2 separate regions of the Homo sapiens genome follow, and region 2 is linked to region 1. Evidence: promoter capture Hi-C in human tissues and cell types (Jung and others, 2019). All regions are on one chromosome and are shown on one strand. The core of a region is centred on a gene start or on the middle of the fragment in contact, and the rest is flanking DNA. Distances in the headings are between cores, read along the strand shown.

Region 1 (5,582 bases), core at 2,473-4,972:
TGGGTGACAGAGTGAGACACTGTCTCAAAAACAAAACAAAAACAAAAACAAAACAACCTGTCAATATCACTGGGGAAAGAGTTTGTCAAACTCCAAGGCAATTTTCAGTGAGAATGACACTAAGTTTCAGACTTCAGGGCAATAGGAATGATGTCAGACTTCAATTACATTCCCCATGAAGAACCAGACAGCTAGAGTGTCGCTATGTACTTTTAAAAGATGACTGAGGATGGAGACAAGTGAGTTGGCAGACAGTGGCAACCTCTGGAAGACAGAATCTTCTCTGCTGGTTCCCAGGCTGCTGCTCCGAAAGTCCCAAAACACGCACCTGGCCTCTCCTGCATTCCCACTGGCTGCACCTTGCTCCTGCCCAGAATGAAATCTGGCTCCTGGCCACCAAGCAAGAAGCCACCAGCTGACCAAAATTTTTAATTAAAAAAAAAAAATTAGTTCAAGTGCCCACTGGGAGACAAAACTCTGAACCAATGACCAATAGTTTCTTCCACAGCAGAATATCATTGCTGGTAACAATGGGTGTGGTATTTCTCAAATCATACCTAATGATTCTTCTCAAAATTTATACTTTGCTTTTCCTCAAACCAGCTGGTTTAGATATTTTAGTACAATGCTTTCACCAGAACCTACAACAATGGTTCCTATTAACTGAGAACTGAAATTGATGTGGTCTCCTCATGCCACAGGTCACATGTTGTTTGGTGACTGATTTTGACTCTCAGGAGGAAGTGGGGTTGCTGTTACACCACGGAGGCAAGAGGAGCAGTAATAGAACACAGGAGATCTCCTGAGGCACCTCATCACTCTCATGCCAGGGCACAAGTTGATGGCAATGTACTGTACCACCTACAGACAAACTACAGACAACCTACCTACAGGCAACCTCCTCAAGAACAAAAGCTTGCTTAACCCAACCAGGCAAAGAATCCTGGCCAGCTGAGGGGTTGCGTGAAGGAAAGAGGGACCTGGAATGGTTAGCGGAGAAGGAAAATTGTAAATGACAATAAAGCTTCATTACCAGTTACAAAAATGAAGATCGTAACCTCTAACAGTATTTCCCTTCTTGCTGTATTATATATAAATGGAGTTTTTAGCTATTGTCCTTTTCTTTCATTTCCTTTCTTTTCACAATTGTATCTAAAGTCTATCAGTGATGCTTAACTTTACAATTTAGTCTACACATTACAACGATGGGATGGGATGATGATGAAACTGAAAGGAAGAATGGAACATCACCTACAGAAGTTAGACTTGGGCCAAATACAGTAAATGAGGAGATTTTGAGATGCCCTGCTTTGGGGAAGGGATAAGTAAATTTTGTTATAGGAGAGATGCTCGCATTTTGTTGGATGGCAGCATTTTCATTTACCTTTGAAAGCACTTCTGTGAATGTTGGGCAGCCTAAGAGACGGACTATAGTGAAGCAACTTTTGGCAACCCAGCGTCTCATTCTTCTTATTTGAGGGGAGGCCCCCACACACTGAGTCTTGGTATGAGGCTAGGCCTCCCAGACTAGAAGCCACAGTAGAAACCAGAACTCTCTTTGCCTATTGGCAATCAGAACACAGGCACATAACCTAGACTAGGCCAAGTAAATGGTCCTTCCCAAAACTTGAATCTTAAGTGAGAAGAGTTGAAAAATAATTCATGTCACCACCAAAGGAGCTGGTACGCACCCTAATCAGAGTACCAAAGCAGGATGGCTTAGCTGGTTCCTAACATTTCCAGGCCTGGTTCTCCAGCATTGCTGCTGCAAGGAGTATAACTACAGACAGCTCTAGGCCTACTTTTCCCGCGCTCAGAAACACCAAAAGAAAGAGCCTCTTTCTCCCAGCCTCATTCTCTAAAATCCCCGACAAGGGCTCAGATCATCTCAGGTTTGGTCATGTGCGCATCCCTGGGGAAATCTGAAAACAAGAGGAGGGAGACTACAGCTGGTCAGGCCTGGGTTCCACACCTCCCCTTCTCCACACCCATCCTGCCTTGGGAGACCGGAGAAGTGCGGTGCTAAAGAACCATCTGACCCAGCGGACTGCAGACAATTCCCAAAGGAAAGTTTTCCCGTCAGGCAAAAACAAAAGCTGCTCACAACACAAAATTACAGAACATCAGAACCAAAAGGAACCTTGGGACTCCTTCATCCTATCCCCTCTCTTTATAGATGAGGAAACCATACAGGATATGTACGCCTGTTTGGACTTTGTACAGTTCTCTGTCCAGCAGGGGTGACTTGGCTGTGGGATTAGGTGACTCCACTGGAGGTCTTCTGTGTATAGAAAAGATCAAGGGTCACAAACACAAATGCCTTCAGGTAGGCAGCAAATGTGTGAAGGCTGGCTGTTACTTAATGGACCAGTGGTGGTGGTGGGATTCAAATTCTTATTAAAAAACAAAAGCAAACAAACAAAGAAAAGCTATGCGATGCCCAAATAAAACCATCTGTGGGCTAGCTGCTGCTGTTGTCCAAAGTTTGTGGCCCCTGGGTTAGACAAAACCTCTGAGCTGTCCTGACAGGTCTGGGAAAACCAAACAAGTCCTTGTCTCCTAAACTACCTGGGACTCAAGAGCTCTGTAGGAAAAAATTTGTACCCTGCACCCAGCTGGGGTTGACATTTACAGACGCCTGTTTTATGAACTGGGGAGATATTCAGTTGAAGCCAGATTGCTGAAAGTGCTGCTGAGAGAAAATCATCAGAAGGGAGGGCCTCTTCCCCACGCCACCCTGGTGGTAGTTCCTCTATGCCTCCGGATTCTGCTAAGCAGTAAAAGCTAAAGGGCAGTGTCATTAAGCTCCTAGGGGATGGGATGCAGTGGCTCACACCTGTAATTCCAGCACTTTGGGAGGCCGAGGCGGGAGGATCGTCTGAGTCCAGGAGTTCAAGCCCAGCCTGGGCAACACAGCAAGACCCCATCTTTGCAAAATAGATAGATAGATAGAGATGTATGAAAGTTACTAGGTCCCATGCTGGCAGGGGAGAGAGTGAGCACCCTGGCCTCCCACAAGCTGCCTCCCACTTCCCTCCGACTCCATCACCGATTTCCCATCAGAGCAGGCTGCTCAGAGTGGCTAAGTAGCTACCAGTTCATTTTCCACACCCTTCCCATTCTCCACGAGCCAGAGCTCCACCTCCCCCCAGAAGCTGTCTTCAACCACCCGGCCTGGGGAGCTCCCCTCAGCACTGGCTCCCCGCCCCGCCTCGCAGCACCTGTTCGGGCCTCGGTCGCGCCGCCGGGTCTTGCAGACGCGAATGTAAACAGAAACACAGTGAAAGGCGTTCGGAGAGCCTCGTGACTGCGGCACGGCGGCGAGCCGGGAACATCAGTGCGTCCAGAGCAAAATGAACGAATGTACGCATGACTCCTGGAGCGACCTTCACGAGGGAAAGCGCGCCCCCCGGCACCCACCCCTAAGCGCCCCAAAATGACCAGCCTTTACACAACCCAGCTCGCAGGCGAAGCTGAGGTCGGAGCTCCAAAAGCGAGGGAGGACAGCCGCTGAAGAAGTCCCGGCTTCCCATAGGCCAGGACGAAGTAGGGGGCGGGCTCATCTTGCAGGAGCGTCCACGTATTGGTGGAGCCGCGGACTTAGAGCTGCGATTCGCTGCGCGAAATTGCCGAAAGCCCTCCCGCGGAGGGAGAAGGGGCGGGAAGAAGGGCGTGGTCAGCGCGGCCGAAGGGCGTGGTTGGCGCTCGGTCCTGCCCTGCGCGTTTTGGGCTGCGGTTGGAGGGCCGCAGTTGCAGTCAGGGTCCGCCAGCTCGGGGCCAGCGCATGGGGCTGCTGAGACCGCTCCGGACGTGCGAAGCGTTCGCGGTGCGGTAGGTAGGCAGTGTCCCGCGTGCGGGTGCTGGTGTCGGGGGTGCCGCGGCGCTGGGGGCGGTGGCCCGGGCTAGATCCGCGCGCGCGCCCGGCCCCCTCCCCCGCGTCTCTTCGGTGCCTGCGGGGCCCTTGCGGTGCGGGCCGTCTGGCCTCGCGTCCCCGCCGGCAAGGGCACAAAGGCTCCCTGGGGGGCGGGGGCGCCTCGTGCCTTCGCCTCCATCTTGCGAGCGGAACGGCGTGTGCTGTGGCGGCCGAGGGGTCGGGGCCGAGGCGGGCGGCTGGGCTTGGGAATGCCCGGGCGCGGCGAGGGAGTGCGCGAGTCCGCGCATCTGGCGGCCGAGCAGCTGCGCCGCTGGTCGGCCTGGGCCCCGGGGGAGGTCACTTTCCCTCAGGCCTCTCCCGGGCGTGGGCTGTTTACCCAGCTCCCCAGTCGGGGCTAATGCAGCTCGGGCCTTTCCCCCTGGAAAGATGGAGACCAGTGATGTCTTCTTATCGCCGCGCCCAGATGCGGAGAGAAAAAATCAAGATGTCTCATTTTTTTTGCCTCGGAGGGCTACCCTTTCTAACTGTCATCACTAGAACAGTTCTCAGCAGCCTGGGGACGAATGTCCAAAACCTGTTCCAGGCCCTTGATGATTAGTAGGTTGGGTTTAGTGTATTGTTTGTAACAAAAATGAGCGGAAGCCTGCCAGGGCAGATTGGACCTCACTGGGAATTCATCAGGACCACGAAGGGAGGTAGCGTTTGTAAATAATCTAACAGTTCTCAGATCTAGGGTATGAAGAGTGTTGTGTTAAAGTGTGTAACAAAGGTTGTTGGGTCAGTTTGCCTTGGGTTTAGTTGAAAGATCTAGAAGTCACCACTTTTTACTTTGTTCCCTCCATTCCCCTTTCCCACCCTCTGTTGAGTCAATTCTGGCCCACTTAGAAAACAACAACAACAAAAAACCCAAGGAATTCAGTTTAACCTCTTTTGCGCAAAGCTTTTTAAAGCACTTCCCCACCCTGCGACTGATAACTCCTCCCTTTTTTGGGCTACCTTCTGCAGCCTCTGTTTTTACTCATCACACTGTATTGTGGTTTCCCCAGCCCCTAGCACAATGCTTGGAACATAAAAGGCACTCAATGATGGAAGGAAGCCAAAAGGAAACAAAATCAGCGTGGTAGTCTAAAGGTGACACAACAGAAACATTTATTTAACTTCTTGAGCGAGTTATTCTTACAGGTTAGGAAGGCAGCTAAGCTCAGGCTCTCTAAGTCAAACAGGCTTTAGCTCTGCCATGTTACTAACTCTGATTAATTTTTTTTTTAATGGTGATGGGGGTCTTGCCATGTTGTCCAGGCTGGTCTTGAACTCCTGGGCTCAAGCAATCCTCCTGCCTCTGCCTCCCAGAGTGCTGGGATTACAGGCGTGTCATTAAGTTATTTAACTTCTCCGTGCCTTGGTTTCCTCATCCTTAAAAATGGGAATAATAGTAGTACCTGTGTGGTGAGTTATTAGGATTAAATAAGATATTGATGTATAGTGCCTAATATAGTTCCTGGCACAAAGAAAATGATCAGTAGCTGTTAGCTGTTAGCAGTCGTTAGGAGAAAAATAAATGGATACTTGAATACACTCACCAATATGAAATATCTGTATAGTACTTGACCCTTCAGGATCTCTCTGTTTTTTGGTCCTTATCCGATCCCTTTTTTTGAGACAGGGTCTCACTCCATCACCCAGGCTGGAGTACAGTGGCATGATCTCA
Region 2 (5,689 bases), core at 57-2,556, 940 kb before region 1:
GAAAAAGGTCTACTTGTCTTTTTCTACAGTACAATGAAATACAGCCTGTGTAGTGGCACTTTTGGTGAGAAGGCAACAGGGAATGTATGTAGCCCAATGAATAAGAACACGTCAAAGGAAAAGTCAATGAATAAAACAAATCATTCTGACCCCTACTAATCCCTTGGAAGTGACATACACATTTAGACCAGTCATTCACACTAACACACAACTACTATCATCAATAAATTCAAAAAATTATTTTAAAAAATGCTTCAGAAATATTTTAAGAAAAACATTTCCATCATTCAAATACACTAAAAACACCTCTCGTCACCCTAGATATATTTGCTTTTGCTGAAGAGATTTTAATTCATTACGGTATTTAAAAGGTTACAGAAACCAATATATTGCTATTTCACCATAACTGTGATACATCTGAGTTGTGAGGCAATCAGATTCCTTATTTAGAAAAATAAACTTATGCTAAGCTAACTAAAACCTTCAAGGTAAAAACTGAAGTTTCAAGAACAATTAAATCAACCAAAGAATAATTTTGGTTCCATATAATAAGATCTTCTGATATACATGAAATCATACTTTAGTATATAAACATGTATTCATGCCCTCTCATTTCCCCTCTAAGAAGCATTTCATTTAAAAAAGTTATACAGAAGCTTAACTAGAGGCATTAGCTGTGCTTTTTCTGTTTAGACAATTAAGGAACTGACATCAAACATGAAAACAATGCTTTGACACATTTCTGACGAAGAACAGCAATAATTAAAAATTTAATAACAATTAAATTTAAATTAATTTTAAATTAAATTTTAATAACGTTGCTTTGTTTTGAATTCCTATTTAGAGTTACTATTTAAAGGATATAATGGTTTTCTATTTATAGTAGCAAAAAATTTCCTTTAAAATAAGCTTATTTAAAGGAGTCAATTTAAATTGTATTAAATAGAATTAGTAAGTGCACAGATATGGCAAACATCTGAAAGTGTAAATGCCCGTATTTGGCTGACATTAGTATATCACATGGCTAGCAAGTATTAGCCTGTGTTCTAGTTCTAGCTGTCTTTGAACAAAGCAATCTGTTTCCTCATCTCTGAAAATGAAGGGACTAAAGTGGAATAAAGGGAATTTGGGAGCTGGAAAAAATATAAGCGACCATTTGGTCCTGACATAAGAATTTACAAGTAACGTGCATAACACTATAGATTTAGTTCTATTGCGTCTATAGCAAAAGAACAATTTTTTTGCTTAGACAAGAAACTAAAAAACAAGAGTACGGCTGGCATATACCCTCCATATAATTTCTAGAGCCCTTGGTCAAATTAGCCAAGAAAAACAATATATTTCCAATCAGACATATTCTTACTCTGCTTAGATCTCTTAGAAGGCCTTATCTGGGGATATTTTATCAGTGACATCAAAGTTTCAATCACAGGAACACATTCAATCTTGGCTTCTACTTCTGTATTTGATAATCTAAACCCAAAATAAAACACTTTTGTAGTACCAGTTATTTATATACATAAATGACCCAAGATAGTTTTCAAAATTTAAAAATGGCATATAATCAATCAATATACAACTGGCCTTATTAAACTGCAAATAAAATGCTGTGACAGCTATTCTTCCTGGAACTTTTTTTTTTATGTGTTCTCTGAAGAAAGATTCATGATCTTCCCAAAGGTTTATACTCTTTAACAAAGACCAGTACCTAGACAATGCTTTCCTACTCACTGTCTTTATATATTCTCTCTATATTTTAAAATCTGAGTAAAAGAATTCTTCAAAATGAATTCCTAGGCTGGGCATGGTGGCTCATGCCCGTAATCCCAGCACTTTGGGAGGCCAAGGTGAGAGGATCACTTGAGGCCAGGAGTTTGAGACCAGCCTGCGCAACATAGTAAGACTCCCGTCTCTACAAAAGATTTAAAAAAAAAAAAGTAAAAACAGAAAACATTAGCCAAATGTCATGGCATGCACCTATAGCCCCAGCTACTCAGAAAGCTGAGGTGGGAGGATCACTTGTGCCCAGGAGTTTGAGGCTACAGTGAGCTGTGATCCTCCAGCCTGGGTGACGGAGAGAAACTCTGTCTCAAAAAAAAAGAAAAAAAAAAAAAAATTCCTGAAGTCATGTACTTGAGAACTTTAAATGAGTATGTACATAAAAAACATCCGAATGTCTCGATTACTGGCTTCATTTGTTGGTCTTCAATTAAGTTAGTTTGACCTCATGTATTCAGCCCTATCCCAATGTTATCTAGCACCAAGAACATGAAATAGCACCATTAATTCTACTCAAGACTAGAAGAAATGCTAAAGAAAATCTTCCTAATAAAACTGTCTTCTATTTTATCTATTACTTTGAAACTTTGCTTGATACTCGAAAGCATGTTGCTCTCATTAGCAGGAACTAAACTTCCAGAGTTAAAAAAAAATTTTAAAATAAACATATTCTGGAATAGTGTTATTTTCTTTGTGGGCTGGGAGAACATGAAAAGTTACTCATAAAATATGTATTTATTAGGAATAGTATTATTAATTTGACTGTTAAACATTCTAATCATTTCCTTTTTAAGGGCCAGTGAAATACAATTATTTTCATATCAAGTCTTCCCAAAGGAAAGACTTTGTATAATATCTGTCAGTTTCACCTAAAGAAGAAAAACTGAGAAATCAATCTTTGTCTCTCAACCTAACAAATGTTTTCTTTCATTATTTACATCACACACAGCCTTTTGCTTACTACCTACTAAACACAAGTACAAAATTCCTGCCCTAAAAAAAAAAGCAAAACAAATACTAAGCAAGGGACAAAACAAATCTTATGCAGATTGTTTACATATCTTCTGAGCACTTCTATTTTAGTGGGCAAGTGGGTAGGCATAATGGGGTACTGAGAAAAAAAGGAAAATGTTTTAAAACATGAAAATGTTATAACATTTTTTTATGATGAAAAACAATGTGGACTGCATATATTATCTCAGATAAAACAGATTTCCATCTATACTAGAGTTTCCTTGTGGCTGATTTCAAAAGGATGACTCAAACAGAAAGAACTGCTTTAGTATGTTTGCGGTGGAACCATTTTATGAAACCAATTCAGCTGATGACTGGAGTTTAATTCATAGCAGTTTCTTGATAAGAGTGAAAATTTAATCACCTTCTTCATTCTTTTGCAACCAGCAGGAGTAACACATAGCATTTTTACATAAAAGGAGAAATAATGGTGTGCAGTAGTAGTTGGAGGTTACTACTTTCTGCTAGTGTCTTTTAGCTTCTCAACACAGCAGTGGAGGAAGTGAAGTCTATGTTCCCCTTCCCAAGATACAGGACACCACCTGTGTAAATTCCCACCCTCCTCTCTTAGAGAAGCCAAATAGCATGCTGATAGTATATCACCTACAGGGATAACTTATTTCATCCTGATGGAAAAGGAGTTAACATCTTTCCTAGGGACAGTATTTGTTCCTTTAACTGGGGCTTCTCAACTTGGGCATTACTGACATTTTGACATTGTGGGGCACTGGCCTGTGCATTGTAGGGGGTTCAGCAGTATCTCTGGCCTTTCTGTTCTACCTAGATGCCAGTAGAACATTCTAGTTGTGACTTTAAAAATGCCTCAACTTCCTATCTCCCCACTACTCACTCCCCTACCTTGTGAGAACCACTGCTCTAATCTTGAAGACAACATACATTGTTCTTAGGATGGAAATTTCCCCTTTTTTTGGCATACTTCTTGGCACACAGTAAGGTACTTAATGTTTGCTTACTAACATTATACTGATACTGATAATAAAAGGTTATTTATACTAAGACTTGTGTTAGTAAAGGCCGTGTAGTTGAAGGCGGGTGTAGTTTCAGTATTTTACTAGAATTGATAGGGGCTGAGAGTGAGAATGAGAATCTTGCCTTGATGGCAATTAATGATTAATGTTTCTGTACATTTAAAATATTTTAATATTGTGGCTACCTCTCTCAAATGGTTGAAGGAAAGCGACTAGAGCTGGAGTGGCCACAGAAGTAGCTATAAGGCTACTGCTGGGTAGCCTGCTGTTTAGAGAAAGGCAAATCTTTGGAGGCTAGATAAGTATCTTCTGGACTAAGGGGCCCATATTTAGAAAAATTAAAAGCAGGTTTTGGCAAGCATGGGAGAATTCTTTTAGGTCAACAGAGGGTGTCAATTTGAATCAACCTTGGGGTAAGGTCTATCTTGAACTTGCATAGAATGGTAATTAGCCAAATGCTTTCACGTAAGATTATTTTATTTGACCCCCATAATAGCCCTGTGAATTGGGTAGGAAAGTCTGAACTCTATTTTCCAGATAAGGGAACTGAGTAGGTCAGAAAAGCCCAGTGACTGAAGGCCAAAGAACTCTGGCAGAGCTAGGACTGAGATCCACATGTTAACTCAACATACATTACCCCATTTAATTTCTATTACAACTATAAAGTACAATCATTTGTCCCCATTTTATAAATGGAGAAACTGAAGCTACCAGAGGTAAAGTGGTCCAGATTTTCTAATGTCATTACTCCACACCCTAGACAAGGTAGAATGGGGCTAATTCCTAAACAGACTAAAAGACCCTATTACAGGACCATTTAGAAGACTAGAATGTATTCACATGTAAAATAAACTGTAAAAAAGTTATACTTCAGCATAGATTAGTAACAACTATTCAATTATGAGTAGTGCTGAGATTATCTGAACCTTTGTCACTTCCTCAATGTTCATTGTATTTGTCAACCATTTCCTGGTAGTGACCAACGACAAATATTTCAGTAAATAAAGTGGACTTTGTGTGCTTATTTTAAAAATGAGGACAGAAAGGAACCTAAGGGTGGAAAATCAGGGTATTTCACAAAGGTAAATTCCTGGTACTACCAGGAAGAAAAACATACACATTAGAAGTGAGTCCAGACAGTTTAGGAACAGACAGGGTCACGTGCTCCCTGATTGTGGAAGGAGAGCTGTTTATATAGTCTTGCAACCTTACCCACAAATAATCACTTAATTCTCCACACCTAGAAAATACATTTTTAAACACACAACTAAGAACCCAAACAGTTTTATTGTCTGTGCCCATTCTTAGCTTGTATTCAACAATTTTAGATTACCAAAGTTCCTAAAATGACAAAATGATCCTCACAAAGCAAGACTAGAAAGTCCTCTAGGTTTAACCATTAAAGTCCCAAATAAAATTCTGCATAAAGCAGCAAATTCAGTGGGATTTGGCAGTTATTTGGAACAAAAACATGAGATAAAAGGATATTCATGGGAAATCCTATCATTTTCTAAAGTCAGCATCCCACACTGGTAGTCCCTTTTCATAATGGCTAACACTGAATTCAGTCTCTGTGCCAAGCACTGTTCTAAGCACTTTACATGTATTAAGTGATTTAATCTCTGGGACAACCTTATGAGATAGGAACTATTATAACCCACATTTTACAGATAATAAAACTAAGGTTACAAATGAGCACTCTGGAATTGCTGAAACAATTGAGTTTTAAAGTTTTAAAGTACAGGCACATCTGGTTTTATTGCACTTTGCTTTATTTTACTGTGCTTCGCAGATACTGTGTTTTTTACAAATTCAAAGTTTGTGGCAACCCTGCATGGCCAAGTCTATTGGTGCCAAGTTTCTGACAGCATGTGCTCACTTCATGTCTGTGTCACATTCTGGTAATT

What was found. The method cuts DNA at HindIII sites, captures the fragments that hold promoters and counts their contacts. A contact is called where the count stands out against the background at its distance.
Region 2: a fragment that was not itself captured here is called in contact with the fragment with the promoter of CEP68 in region 1 in 1 of the 25 tissues and cell types used here (hippocampus).

Annotation. Positions count from the first base shown.
Region 1 is chr2:65,052,694-65,058,275 of GRCh38, forward strand. CEP68 (centrosomal protein 68) reads left to right here and starts at 3,723. Exons shown (of 7, transcript NM_015147.3): 1 at 3,723-3,835. LINC02576 (long intergenic non-protein coding RNA 2576) reads left to right here. Exons shown (of 3, transcript NR_183398.1): 3 at 1-1,049. RefSeq lists an enhancer at 3,316-3,555 and silencers at 3,656-3,765, 3,846-4,185, 4,816-4,865, 4,876-4,955. The HindIII fragment of the contact is 11,141 bases long and covers 1-5,582 here.
Region 2 is chr2:64,111,200-64,116,888 of GRCh38, forward strand. All of the region lies in intron 1 of PELI1 (pellino E3 ubiquitin protein ligase 1), which reads right to left. Among named protein-coding and RNA genes, the nearest start is that of PELI1, 30 kb to the right of the region's middle. RefSeq lists an enhancer at 2,925-3,004. The HindIII fragment of the contact is 4,307 bases long and covers 1-3,460 here.